3 separate regions of the Homo sapiens genome follow, and all the other regions are linked to region 1. Evidence: promoter capture Hi-C in human tissues and cell types (Jung and others, 2019). All regions are on one chromosome and are shown on one strand. Each heading gives the region's core, a stretch centred on a gene start or on the middle of the fragment in contact. The rest is flanking DNA. Distances are from core to core; before and after follow the strand shown. Region 1 holds the start of GALNTL6 (polypeptide N-acetylgalactosaminyltransferase like 6). Region 2 has its middle 55 kb from the start of GALNTL6. Region 3 overlaps GALNTL6 (polypeptide N-acetylgalactosaminyltransferase like 6).

What was found. The method cuts DNA at HindIII sites, captures the fragments that hold promoters and counts their contacts. A contact is called where the count stands out against the background at its distance.
Region 2: a contact is called between a fragment that was not itself captured here and the fragment with the promoter of GALNTL6 in region 1, in 2 of the 25 tissues and cell types used here (aorta and heart left ventricle).
Region 3: a contact is called between a fragment that was not itself captured here and the fragment with the promoter of GALNTL6 in region 1, in 3 of the 25 tissues and cell types used here (dorsolateral prefrontal cortex, hippocampus and lymphoblastoid cells).

Annotation. Positions count from the first base shown.
Region 1 is chr4:171,811,415-171,816,044 of GRCh38, forward strand. It overlaps GALNTL6 (polypeptide N-acetylgalactosaminyltransferase like 6), which reads left to right and starts at 1,990. Exons shown (of 13, transcript NM_001034845.3): 1 at 1,990-2,576; 2 at 2,998-3,304. The coding sequence starts at 3,167. LOC441052 (a long non-coding RNA gene) reads right to left here and starts at 2,193. Exons shown (of 1, transcript NR_134656.1): 1 at 724-2,193. RefSeq lists a silencer at 1,911-1,960 and an enhancer at 2,201-2,350. The HindIII fragment of the contact is 16,056 bases long and covers 1-4,630 here.
Region 2 is chr4:171,756,336-171,760,965 of GRCh38, forward strand. No RefSeq gene overlaps it. Among named protein-coding and RNA genes, the nearest start is that of GALNTL6, 55 kb to the right of the region's middle. The HindIII fragment of the contact is 3,330 bases long and covers 729-4,058 here.
Region 3 is chr4:171,859,469-171,864,098 of GRCh38, forward strand. The region is part of intron 2 of GALNTL6 (polypeptide N-acetylgalactosaminyltransferase like 6); the gene reads left to right. Among named protein-coding and RNA genes, the nearest start is that of GALNTL6, 48 kb to the left of the region's middle. The HindIII fragment of the contact is 5,882 bases long and covers 1-4,630 here.

The DNA.
Region 1 (4,630 bases), core at 740-3,239:
AAAAGGAGAAAAAGCTAAAGTTATGGTCTGGAACTATGCTATAAAACAGAAGTAAACATAGTAATTTTCTCCTTTCAGTTTCTACCATGTATTCTGCGTGTACTTGATTGGGGAAGTAATAGTAATTAACGATTTTCTCTGAATGGGTGCTGTATGCAAGACCATTTGCTAGTTTAACAACAGTGAAGCATGTTTCAACTCAACACCCTGGATTCAACAAATAGAATGCTAGTATGTCTATTCCTGATCCAAGACTATTTTTTAAGGTATTAAAAAACAGGTATTGTTTAAAATGTGAGAGATTTTACTTTTTTAATTCCAAGTGCACTTTTGAGTTATTTTACTTTGAAAATTAATAACTGTATCAGTACTTAAAAATATATCCAATATAATTAAATGATTCTCCAAATTTATTTCCTTGAGCACCTGACAATATTCCCAGGAAACCTCTCCCTGCTATGTTGCTTCCCAGAATTCACATTTCTGTGTTTCAAAACTGCACTTCCTTAGAGAGAAAAAGGTTAGAAAATAACGCAGACTACAAAAGGCATAGTGTATGTGTGGGGGTGGGGGTGAGGAATTAAGTCCCTTGCACTCTAGATTAAGTTGCATTTATATAAAATCTAAAGGTAATTGGTCTTTATATAAAGGACACATTCAACAACATTTATTAAATATATTTTTAGACTATTTTAAAATTCAAGTGATTCACAAAAACAAATATTACAGCATAGCGCTTTATTCATGCCATCATACAGTCGATCTGTATTCTTCAAGTACATTTTGAATTTATAATGAGAACAGTTTAAGGCATAACTCTTCCCACTCAAATCTAGGTCTTTCTCAAGTGAGACACTAGAGAGAGTAGAAAGGGAGGAAGAGATAGGGCGAGAAGAAAAGGAGGGAGGGACAGAGATGAGGACGAGAAAGAAGAAAAAAGGGAAAGAGAAAATACCGTCTGAAGTCCACAGGCTTATCTATCCCAAGCATGTCTACCCCACGCATGTGGGCATCATATCCAGGTTGTAACAAAGAGGTGACCATGGCGTTTATTTTTGGCTCCAGACAGGCGGATTCAGCCTGCATTGCATGCATGCATGTCTGTCACCTCATCTAAGTCCCCATTCCTTCCGGAGTTGTGAGCTCCAGATCCAAGAGTGCCCAGTGCACGGTGCTGGGCACGCTGTCCCTTGGCGAGGCTGCCACAGGTTCCTGAGTGTGCGGTCAGGGGCGTTGGTGCATTGATACGTTAGGCGGAGGGAGGAGTACCATCTGCCAGAGTCTTATCTCGAGTCCCACGTTTTCTGGCCATCGCGGAGGAGTGTGCGAGGACAGGTAGCCCTCGCAGTGACAAGGCGCGCGGAGTGCGGTCGTGCAAGGCGGGGGAGGAGCGGGGTGGCCCTGCCGAATCTTAACCGGGGCCCCGGGTGTTTGCAGACCCAAATAAAGCCGCCTTGGGTCTCCACGGTGTCCTCCAGAAGCTGCTGCCTGAGAACTCTGAGCCTCAGCTCTGTCTTGCTTCGGGATCCTCTTCCTCCTCCTTCCCCACCCCCTACCTGGCCTGAACGGCGGAACGCGCGGCTCGGGGGATCCCCTCTCCCTGGGACCGGCCCTGTCCCGGGTCGCCTCCACCTCCCGCAGCCGCCGCGCCCCGGCTCGCCGCGCTCCCGCCGGCACCATGGAGGAATTCCTGGGACAACCGCCTGCAGCCGGCGACTTTTCCCCAGGAATCTCTGGCCTGGCGCCCTTTGGGTGAGATGACGGGGTGCTGGCATCCCTGTCGGTCCCAGATTACCCGGAAAAGCCCTGGCAGGTAAAGAGAGGACCCGCGCAGGCTGGGAGCTCCCACTCCTCCTCCAGCGTCACGCTCGCCCTCCGCCGCTGCCTCGCGTCCGGGTCTGTTTATATAGCGTCTGGAGGCCGGGAGGCATTGCCCACCCCCGCCAGGCGGCCCGCCCTCCCCTCCTGGGCTCCGGGCTGCCGCACGTGGCAGACACCAGCGACGTCTCCGCGGAAGGCAGGCGCCGGGGAGTGGGGCGCGGGCGACCGTGTGCAGCCGCGGCGCATCTCCGCCTTCCGCTCCTCCTCGCAGCGCCCTCGTCCGCTTCCAAGCCCAGCACAGACTTCGGTTTCTCCGCCTCCATCCCCTTTACGAGAAGAGGAGATCAAAAAATATTGCCCTTTAGGTGCTCGTGATGGTCCTGTGGGTTCGTTCAGTTGCCAGAAAAGAATGGTAACATGAACAGCGGAGCGTGAGAGCGTCACCGGGGGAAGGGACGAGATTGATGGGCAGAGCGCTCACTTCTCAGAGGATCGCATTCCGAGGACCGCGCGAGGAAGGGACGTCGCGGCGCCACCACTTCCTGGCTGGACTCCGCTGACATCTGTAGCCTCCTTTCCACCAGGTTCCCGGGGCTCCCAGCCGCTGCCTGCAGAGGAGCGTGTAGACAGCGCGCGAGGGTCCGGCACTTCGTGGACCTCCATCCGAACCGGAGTTCTGCCCGGATCCCGAGTCCCTGGATCCCGGTGGAGCCCGCCGGCAAGCTGGCTCCGGAGGGAGTTGAACTTGAGTTCAGGTGGGTTATCCCAAGGGGAGCACAGGAAAAGATGTTCAGGGAAGACGAAGAAGGTGACGCTGTTCCAATGTCAAAAGCGGACACTTTTCTTCCTGACACTTGAAGGGGTTGAGCCAGTTCCTCTCAGTTCTGTCTCCTAACCCGCTCCACCCCGACCCAGCCCTCCCACACTAAGGAGGTGGGGGGCGAACAACAACAACAGCAACAAAAACTCCCAGTTACCTAAGTATCTAGCAGGCTGTTGACTTTTTTATAACTTACCTTTAGTCAATGAAACGACCATATTTACTCTATTGCTTTATATTAATGGAGGTCAATGGGCTTAATGATTTCTTTAGTCAAGTCATTTATTTCTAAGCCAATAGATAATGCCTTCGTCATAGTTTTCTGGGGGGAAAGTAACTGTGCGTTTGTTCTGCAGATGGCCAACTCCCTCTGAATCCTGCAGATTGGTGCTGAGCACGCAACAAAAGTTTGTAGCTTCTCAGTTTCTGGTGCTTCGCAGGGGAGAGGAAAGGAATTTGACATTAAACACAAGAAGCAGTCAGGGAGCCATCTCCTTTAACTTTTCTTCTCTGTTACCATTTGCAATGAAGAGGAAACAGAAGAGATTTCTGCAGATGACTTTGTTGTTCACGGTGGCTTTAATTTTCCTGCCTAACGTTGGTCTCTGGTCTCTGTACAAGGATAAGCACCTGGTGAAGTCAGCGGAGCCCGGGGAGCAGCAGGTAAGTGCCACCCAGAGAAAGATCACACAAGGATTGGTAAGGCAGTGATCCTCGCGCGGGGACTCGAGAAAGCCGGTGTGGGATCGCCTTGGGTTTTCCCCCAAGTCTTGACAGAGCTGATTATTACAAGACTCTAGAGACTTTGGGGTTTAAGCAAGTAGATGTTTTAAGATTGCAGCCAGTAACATCGTGACATGTACAACTAGTAAAGAAGGATAAGACAGGTCAAGAAGAAGAGAAGATAATCTTTCACCATTGGTCTTAGGTTGATTTTGACTTGAGGTGGATGAAAGGTAACTGTTCAGCTATGGAGGTGGGAGTGGGTTTGGTGCAAGTTTAATGACAAGGATAGGTTTTTGCTTTCCATTTGGCATGCATGTCTATGTTCAGGTGAATTGGGCCAACTAAATCATTAAGATTGTGAAGTGGTTCTTTAAAAATCAAGCTATGGTTTTCAGTATTTTGGTTGTAAATTTTGCTTAGCAACAGCTTTTTACCCTGTCGAAACTTAAAGTCTCTCTTTCGTCTCCCCTGTTGCTAAGGTGCTGCCATGGGGCACACAGGCAGAGTTATTAAGGACGTTCATTCCGTTTCACAGTCGCTTGATAACAGTATGTTGCTAACAGCTTGCTGTCATATTGGAAACACCCATACTAAAGATATGTAGTATAATATGTTTTCTTTCTACTTAATATGTAACTCATTAGTATGTATATACCTCATGACTTAACATGGACCAAAATAACTGTGTTCCCTGGTGAACAATAATGCAAAATAGACTTCCCAAAATGTTGATGAAAATCAATGTTGTCGAATTCCTTGTTTGTTAATAAATAAAATAGCTTCCGTAATTAAACGTTTAACAACAGAATGCAGTCTTCTTCATGATATTGATAAACCACTTTTTCAGTTAGTCCTGTGCATCACCTTGGAATATTAATATTCTTAATTTCAAGGGTCATCACCCATGAACACTCTGTACCTTCCACACATAGAAAATGTTGAAGTAGTCCATTCCTGGAAAACAGCAATATATAGTAATGGCCATTAAATATTTGCTCTTATACTTAATGAAGTTTAATTTTCTTTTTGCACAGTGGTTAGTTGTGCAATATAAAGAGGTAATCTGCTTTTTCATTATGACAAGAAATCATTACCAGTCTCTAAACTTTAAAGAGAATGAGTTGTCCATGGATTTTTAGTGGATTGTTATTTCGAGGAAAAATGTTGACATATTTTCATTTAGTTGTTAATATTTATTATCCTTTCTAATAGGAATTCAACTTTGGTTTGAAGTATATTCTGTTTTGTCATTCCAGTGAAAAA
Region 2 (4,630 bases), core at 1,144-3,643, 55 kb before region 1:
CATTAGGGTTCTTTGATTACCAGCAACAGAAGCTGAATCCAATTAAGAAAAATAAATATATTGAGAGACAATGAGTCTTCACAGACTAGTCATGAAACTGAGAAAAGAGGCTCTGGCAAGGATAAAGTGCAAAAATATATTAATGCAAACAATATGACCACTGTTTTTGGAATGAATAGACCTGAAGCACTTTACTGTCCTCAAGATGCCGCTTCAGAGGGAATTGTATAGGAAAAAATATTGGCAAATACATACTTTAAAAAGTAATCATAAAAATTGATCAAAATAATTTACACTCAAAGCAATAAAAGATTGTGTTGATGAAAATGAAGTTCACAGGTCTGAAAGTCACACTTTTGTTAAATTTAAGCCTAGAGTCCAGATCTCTGTGTGATGTTTCTTGTTAACAAGAAGTATTAATAGCATCTTAAAATGCAAGGTATTATTACATAACTGCATGAATTGCATTTCTTTTCGAATTTTGATTAACTAACACAGAAATTATTTTCTGGAGAATGATTCCAGATGATAAAAAGTCAAAATGAAGCCTATATTCTTTTTCTTTGTTGTTTTCTTTTAGATCATTTTAATAGACTACATATGTACTGAACTGTGCATTCCTTGTGGCAAAAGAAAATATTTAATTCTTCTTCAAACAGCAAACGTTTTTAAGAGTGCTCTCACATCAAAAGAGCCCAATTTAAGTTTGTTAAATAAAGCTTTAATATAGAGAGAAGCTTTAAGTTTTCATTTCAAAATAATTCTTAGGCATCAGCACAACAGGACAGACAGGCACTTACTTTCTTTCTGTTTAAACGTGAGTCATGTTAGTTTATTTATTATGTGAATTTTTCTAGTGGCTTCGAGTTTTGAATTGAAGTGAAACTTCACATCACAATGATGAATGGAGCTCTGCTACATTTTAGCTATCGAAAATATTTCAAAAATAAGAACTCAAGACCAAGTCTTACTTGGAGAGAGCCATAAACATATTCATGTTGGCTGAAAGCAGATAATATTATTAACTGAGTACTCATAATTAAAATATGAAAAATGTATTATCATCACAGAAAAGTGATCATAAAACCATAGAAAAATCATAGATTGTATTGGCATTTATTTTCAGCAGCTTGATGTGTAGTTTCTGCTATTCAATTTCCTACATCATAAGAGTAATAATAAATGAGTGTTTCTAGCTTCCTTTCCCACACTCCACTAGCTAAAGATGATTCTGGTTTGTTCTTTTTTTCTCTCCCCCATTTTTCTGTGGAGACTGAACAATGTCAGTCAACCTCTGAACATAACAGAAGGATGGCGATTATGAGAAAGTGCTAGAGAGGAGAGAGGGTTGGAAGGATCTAGCAAAGACTGAAGAAATGCAAACAAAATAAATGTTTATATGAACACTTTTATTTGCTCCAAAACAAAGTTAAAATTTTAGCCGGGCCTGGTGGCTCACGCCTGTAATCCCAGTACTTTGGGAGGCTGAGGCAGGCAGATCACCTGAGGTGGGGAGTTTGAGACCAGCCTGACTAACATGTGAAACCCCGTCTCTACTAAAAATACAAAAATTAGCTGGGGGCAGTGGCAGGGGCCTGTAATCTCAGCTGCTTGGGAGGCTGAGGCAGGAGAATTGCTTGAGCCCAGAAGGCAGAAGTTGCAGTGAGCTGAGATTGTGCCGTTGCACTCCAGCCTGGGCGACAGAGTGAGACTCCGTCTCAAAAAAAATTTTAAGTTAATTTCAGGTATTTTTTTAGTATCTATATTTCTTTACAGCCTTTTTGGAGCTATTTCAGGCTCTGAAGCAACCCAAAGGATTTTGAATATAAATGTAGAACAAAGCAACACTTTGAATCGCTATCATATCCTTTAATTCGGTGAAAAGCTGTGTTATCTGTGAAACGTGGACAAGCGATGTATATTGAACTCCAAATATAGCATCTTAAACAGTTCTGGCAGGATGACTGATTCACACAAGATATAAAAGCTTCAGTAGTTAAGAAAAATAATTTGGGGGTAGGTGTTCATTGTATCATGTTGTAGATTTGTTTTGGCAAAAGCAAATGAATTTCATCAAATCTGTTATGCCATATCTTTGTACTTTTCCCCAGGAATATGTATACCCTGCAAACAAAAACGATGTTCTTACTTTTGTTGACAGATTCTAATAACCAATATCCATCTGAAATATCTATCAGGCCTCAGACAATATTTTGAGAGTTTTTTAGTAATGATTTGCAGGACATTCTGAAGATCACATCCTCCCTTTTCAAATATATAATTTCACTGATTAACGATGCAAACATCACATTTTAGATCTTAAATGACATTGGTATCCAGTAACTTTTGAACAACTGACTTTGTGCAATCATATCCATTAGCTTGTCCAAACAATACAAAAATCTAATTTATCAGTTTAAAATAAATGTTGAGTGATAAGTAGATTTTTAAACATAACGAAAATTAAAATTTAATTCCTTAAAAAGTTTATGTGTGGTGGATGCAAGATGACTGAATAGGAACAGCATTGGTCTGCAGCTCCCAGCAAGACTGACACAAAAGATGGGTGATTTCTTTATTTCCAACCGAGGTACCTGTTTCATCTCATTGGGACTGGTTGGAGAGTGAGTGCAGCCCACGGAGGGTGAGTTGAAGCAGGGTGGGGTGTCGCCTCACCTGGGAAGCGCAAGGGGTCGGGGAATTTTCCCCCTACCCAAGGGAAGCCGTCAAGGTCTGAGCCTGAGGAATTCCCGCACAGATAAAGCGCTTGTCCCTCGGTCTTCGCAACCCACAAACCAGGAGATCCCCTCTTGTGCCTACCCCACCAGGGCCCAGGGTTTCAAGTACAAAACTGGGTGGCAAATTGGGCAGACACTGAACTAGCTGCAGGAGCTCTTTTTTTTCCATACCCCAGTGGTGCCTGGAATGCCAGTGAGACAGAACTGTTCACTCCCCTGGAAAGGGGTGCTGAAGCAAGGGAGCGAAGTGGTCTGGCTTGGTGGGTCCCACCCCCATGGAGCCCAGGAAACTAGGAGCCACTGGCTTGAAATTCTCACTGCCAACACAGCAGCAATCTGAGATCCACTTGGGACAGTCCAGCTTGGTACGGGGAGGGGCGTCCGCCACTGCTGAGGCTCAAGTAGGGCGGTTTGAGGTCACAGTGTAAACAAGGGTGCTGGGAACTTCTAACTGGGCAGAGATCACAGCAGCTCAGCAAGGCAGCTGTGGCCAGATTGCCAGATTTCTCCTCTCTGGAAAGGGTACCTCTTTAAAAATGCAGCAGTCCCAGTCAGGGCCTTATAGCAGACTTAAAAGTCCCTGCCTGGAAGCTCTGAAGAGAGCAGCAGACCTCCCAGCACAGTGTTCGAGCTCTGCTAAGGGTCAGACTGCCTCCTCTAGTGGGTCCCTGACCCCTGTGTATGCTGACTTGGAGACACCTCCCAGTAGGGGCCGACAGACACCTCATACAGGAGAGCTCTGACTGGCATCTGGCAGGTGCCCTTCTGGGTTGAAGCTTCCAAAGGAAAGAACAGGAAGCAATCTTTGCTGCTCTGCAGCCTCTGCTGGTGATACCCAGGCAAACAGCGTCGGGAGTGGACCTCCAGCAAACTCCAGCAGACTAGCAGCAGAGGGGCCTGACTATTAGAAGGAAAAGAAATAGACAGAAAGGATTAGCACATCCACTCAAAGATCCCATCCGTAGGTCACCAACATCAAAGACCAAAGGTAGAGAAATCCACAAAAATTAGAAAATAACAGTGCAAAAAGGCTGAAAATTCTAAAACCAGAACACCTCTCCTCCTCCAAAGGATCACAACTCCTCACCAGCACAGGAACAAAACTGAATGGAGAATGAGTTTGATGAACTGGCAAAAGTAGGCTTCAGAAAGTGGGTAATAACAAACTCCTCTGAGCTAAAGGAGCACGTTCTAACCCAATGCAAGGAGGTAAGAACCTTGGAAAAAGGATAGCCGAATTGCTAACCAGAATAACCAATGTAGAGAAGAACATAAACGACCTGATGGAGCTGAAAAAACACAGCACAACAACTTCGTGAAGTATTCGCAAGTATCAATAGCCAAATCGATTAAGCAGAAGAAAGGATATCAGTGACTGAAGATCAACTTAATGAAATAAAGAGAGAAGACAAGATTAGAGAAAAAAGAATAAAAAGGAATGAACAAAGCCTCCAAGAAATATGGGACTATGTGAAAACTCATTCTACGTTTGACTGGTGTACCTGAAAGTGACAGGGAGAATGGAACCAAGTTGTAAGTCACGCTTCAGGATATTATCCAGGAGAACTTCCTCAACCTAGCAAGAGAGGCCAACATTCAAATTTAGGAAATACGAGAACACCACAAAGATACTCCTCAAGAAGAGCAACCCGAAGACATATAATCGTCAGATTCACCGAGGTTGAAATGAAGGAAAAAAGTTAGACCAGAGAGAAAGGTCAGATTACCCACAAAGGGAAGCCCATCAGACTGACAGCGGATCTATCTGCAGAAACCCTACAAGCCAGAAGAGAGTGGGGGCCAATATTCTATGTTCTCAAAGAAAAGAATTTTCAACCTAGAATTTCATATCCAGCCAAATAAAGCTTCATAAGGAAGGAGAAATAAAATCC
Region 3 (4,630 bases), core at 1,545-4,044, 49 kb after region 1:
TGGACTCCCCAAGATTACCCTTAGTCTTGATGACACACTGCAAGGATGCATGGAACTGAGAAAAAAATCGGTTATACTCATGGTTATAGTTTATTATGACAAAAGGATACAGGTTAATATTAACAAAGAAAAAGACAAAATTAGAAGAAACCAGATGTAAGCTTCTAGGCAGAGATAGTAGAGTTGCAAAAGGACCCACGTAGTTCTCCCAGCAATGTTATGTGACAGCACATGCTAAGTGTCATCAATCAGTAAAGCTTACCTGAGCTTTGGTGTCCAGGGTTTATGTTTGAGGTCAGATAAGCATGTAGTGACTGCATGACTGACTTCAGCTCCTCAGACTGCAGCCCTGCCCTGCCTCCCACTCAATCTCTACTCCCAGGAAAAATAGACATTCAACATAGGTCACATGGTTAAGGTAAACTTATCTGGTCAGATTGATACAATATGGCCTGAGGCCTCGGACATATAGAAACACTCTTTTCAGGAATTATATTCCCAGGGCTCTGAGGTTATCTCCAAGGAGCTGGCCAAAATTCAGTCCTGAAGACAGACCTTTCTTTGGAATGTTCAGGATTTGAGTAATTCAGACCTACTGAGTTAACCTTTTACTGTCCACATAAGAACACCATTATTTGATTAAATAATCCATAATAATGTTTGTCACCACATATTTAGCTTATAGAATGTGTCAAGCCCTGTTCAAACATTACCTTAGGTTTTTTTCTCAACAAATACAATATTAAATCCATTTGCTGATGAGGAACATAAAATCAGAAAACTAAATTTCCCACACCACATGGCTAGTAAATATTAAAGCTGGTATTTGAACAAAGTTCTATTTGATTTTATAGTCTTGCTCTACTCCCTCTACCATATACATTGCAGAAATTTGGACCTTCATAGTCTATAGGAGAAATATCCAGTAAAATAATAGGACCTAGAGTCAATGAATGCAATATATATTGTCATGGCTTTGCTTAAGCACCCTGACAACCTGGCTTTAATCCTCACTCCTCTAGATTGCTCATTGTGGAACAATCAGTATACCAACTAGAAAATAACCACCAGAAAAAAGACTCTACTTTATAATCCTTTAGCCCTTTCACTGAATCTGCTTCTTCACATGTTTAACATTTTTAATGGAAGCTGGACATTGGAAATGACAGATTTTGAGGAGCATTGATTATATTGTCTTCCTTAACAGGGTGTTGATTTTATTTGACCAATCAGTAAATTACTGGTAGATACTGTTCTTCCTCTGAGGATGCATTTCTTAATATGGATCTGTTTCGGTTCTGTTCCTTGTCCTGGAATGCAGCCCTTAATACAGAATATAGTCATTTTTGCCTTAAAGTGTGGCTTTTCTGACATTACAAGTGAGTGTCTTAGGTGCCCAGTAAGATTTCTCCCATCTGCTGGGTGATAACGCCAATTCCAAAGTCTTCCAGAATAGAACAACCTCTGATACCTCCTCCATTCAGCATTCAGCTTGTAGCCATAATTCTCCATTAGGCCTCTCACAGTATCACTCTGTACCTGTTCAGTTCATTTCTCAGCCAAAGACCCCATGAAGATTTATGACCAACATATCTCCTGTCCAATATCGTATTGTACAAATTCCACCCATTTCTGCAAATTAAAACTGCAGTCTAAGCCTCCTCAGCTCTGCAATATTGAGCATAGCTCCATGTCTCATTCACTGAAAGGCGCCCCAGATAGGAAGCCAGTATGAAGAGAGAGTTTACCTCCTGAGTGTTCCTTTCCTCAAGGATCACAGTGTGTGCTACTTCTGGTTCAATGCTTTAAAATTATACCCATATAATTAATCTAGTTTAATAGTCATTTACTACAGGAAGGCCAGTCCAGTTAACAGTTATTCTGTCAGTGTTGAAGTCACTACCAGTATGATAATCAAATAAAATAGTTTAATTGACATTTGTAACCCTTTACAATTTAACACCAGCTTGCTTTTCCTGACCTGTCTCCTCTATTCACATCAGTTGAGTATGTTTTTCACTTCTCAAACACTTTTGAAACTCAGTGCATTTAAGCATATCCTTCTTTTTTCTTGGGATGTGTTTTCCTCTCTTCCATCAATCTTCCTCAGTTTTTAAGACCCAGGAAAACTTACCGCTTCCCCTCTGAAGTTGTTCCCAGCCACTCCCACTAAGTCTAAAATCCTGTGCCACTTACCTATATTATTATTTATATCATCCACAGAACTTTACAACTTTCATAGGTATTTCTGTGTAAATCTATCTTCCAAAATAATTTTGAGATATTTATAAAAACAAATATCATTTGTTTGTGTAGAGCAGGTATTCAGAATTTAAAAAACATATCTGATGGTATTTTTTGACAGTATGTTTTACAAAATCGCTTATATTATTAATGTCTGATGCTATTACTTAACCACTACCACTATATGTAGTGACCACTGGCCACTAATAGTGTTTACTATGATCAATTTTATTAAAGGCTTTGCTTTAATTATTTAATTATTTCACTTATTCTTTCCAATGGTCTTATATGGAAGGTGGTATTTCTTCCATACTAAAGTTGAGAAATACTAGGTAGACACGAGGTAAAGAAACTTGTGGACAATAATTTAGCAAGCTTGGGATAACCAGTATTTCAACCTAGATTTTTCCATTGCAATTCACAAGTTCTATACTATGGCAATTTATGTAACAGGCAGAGGTCTTCAGAAATAAATTAGAATTTTATTTGAGAGATAATTTTTGAAATGTCACATTCCATTATTAGCATATTCATATGTAGAATTATTGAAGAAGATAATATGAATGAAAGTAATTTGTCTTTGGTAGTAGTTTTTCATTCTTTAGGGAAAAGCATTACCAGGCCATTGATTTGAGATGAGACTGCAGAAACTTAGAAAAATAAAACCTCAGTGTGAACTGAGCATCTGTTTAATCATGTATTAATGAAATTTATTTAAAGTCTGAAATATTCTAAATACATGTTAATTTATTTAAATTCTGAATATATAAAACTGTTTTTGAGAATTTGGAAAATATATTGTAATTATCATATTTTAGAAAGTAAGCAAGCAAATACTAGCATCTTACTTAAGGAGAAATGAGATGAATAGACTAGACCAAGGCTTTTTTTAAACGTAAATGACTTATGGTATTGAAATTATGCCTTATTAGAAAGTCGACTGCATTTTATAAAGAATGTCATATTTTATGTAATAATGTAATTTTAAATATCTTGACTTTAGTAAGACTGAATATTTTCCTTTGTAAATATTTGCTTAAATTATATTTTGTTAGTGGTATAGAGTCAACTGATCAAATATAATAACCTAAAAAGTCTTAAGTGTATGAATGTCATTTATTTTATTAGCCCCCAAATTATCTGAGTTTTTCTCAGGACCTATATAATTAGATTTTGAATTAGAATGTATTGATTATAAGTGAATACTTCAAAGTGATTGATATTTTCAAAATGCATATTGTGAAGACCAAAATATATTTGACAATAGAGATATGGAGTAATGTGTCATCTGAAGAAACAGAAATTTTACCTTACAAACTCTTATTTCAAAGAATTTTGTATGTAGGAAAGTTAGGTATCTAATTCACTGAAAACTAACTAGCATTGGCTTACAGGATTGAATTGAAGGCAGACATGAAGTTGCGTGAAATACCAGTCATTCAGGAAGTGAATGAAATACCATCCTTGAAAGGAGTACAAGGCCCTAGAATTAAAAATGGTGATAAATATGGAGGATTCTCTTTTATTTCACTTGACTGAAGAAACTAATCAATAAACATATTTTTTATGATCAATGTCAATTGCCTTTTTGGGATCTATTGTAGACCTCTGTGTTTAACTAATATAACTATATGGTTTTCTATTATTTCATATGGAGAGACTAGAAGAGTGGTGTTTTTGTAAATAAAAGAAATAGAATTTCTGAAAGAAGCTAACTTCAATTCATGTATTTTTGGTAATTGCTACCCTGTTTTCTTTAAAATAGCTAAGACATTCTGGCTCTAGTTTTTTGCCTTCAGACTTTTTGATCTGTTCTCATTACATTCTTGGTGATCTATTTCATCTTTCTGTAATTCAGTAGCTAAGTAATATGTTACAATAGTTGTTCTAAAGTTTCTGTAAAGGCTTTACTAGATTATTAAAGTTAACACTGAGCTGGATATTCATCATTAGTCAAGAAAAAAATTATAAGTCCTCCAGAGTGAAAACTCCTAGTAGGACAAAGTGCATGCATTAAATAATGATAATACCTGAGGAGAAAAGGAACACTTTTTTTTTTTTTGAGACATAGTTTTACTCTTGTCGCCCAAGCTGCAGTGAAATGGCACAATGGCAGCTCACTGCAACCTCCGCCTCCCAGGTTCAAGCGATTCTCCTGCCTCAGCCCCCAAAGTAGTTGGGGTTACAGGTGCCCGCCACCATGCCCAGCTAATTTTTTTTTTGTATTTTTGTAGAGATGGGGTTTCACCATGTTGGCCAGGCTGGTCTCGACCTCCTGCCCTCAGGTGATCCACCTGCCTCGGCCTCCCAAAGTGCTGGGATTACAGGCGTGAGCCATGGCACCCAGAAGGAATACTTTTAATACCACTTCTAAAGTATGTCACTG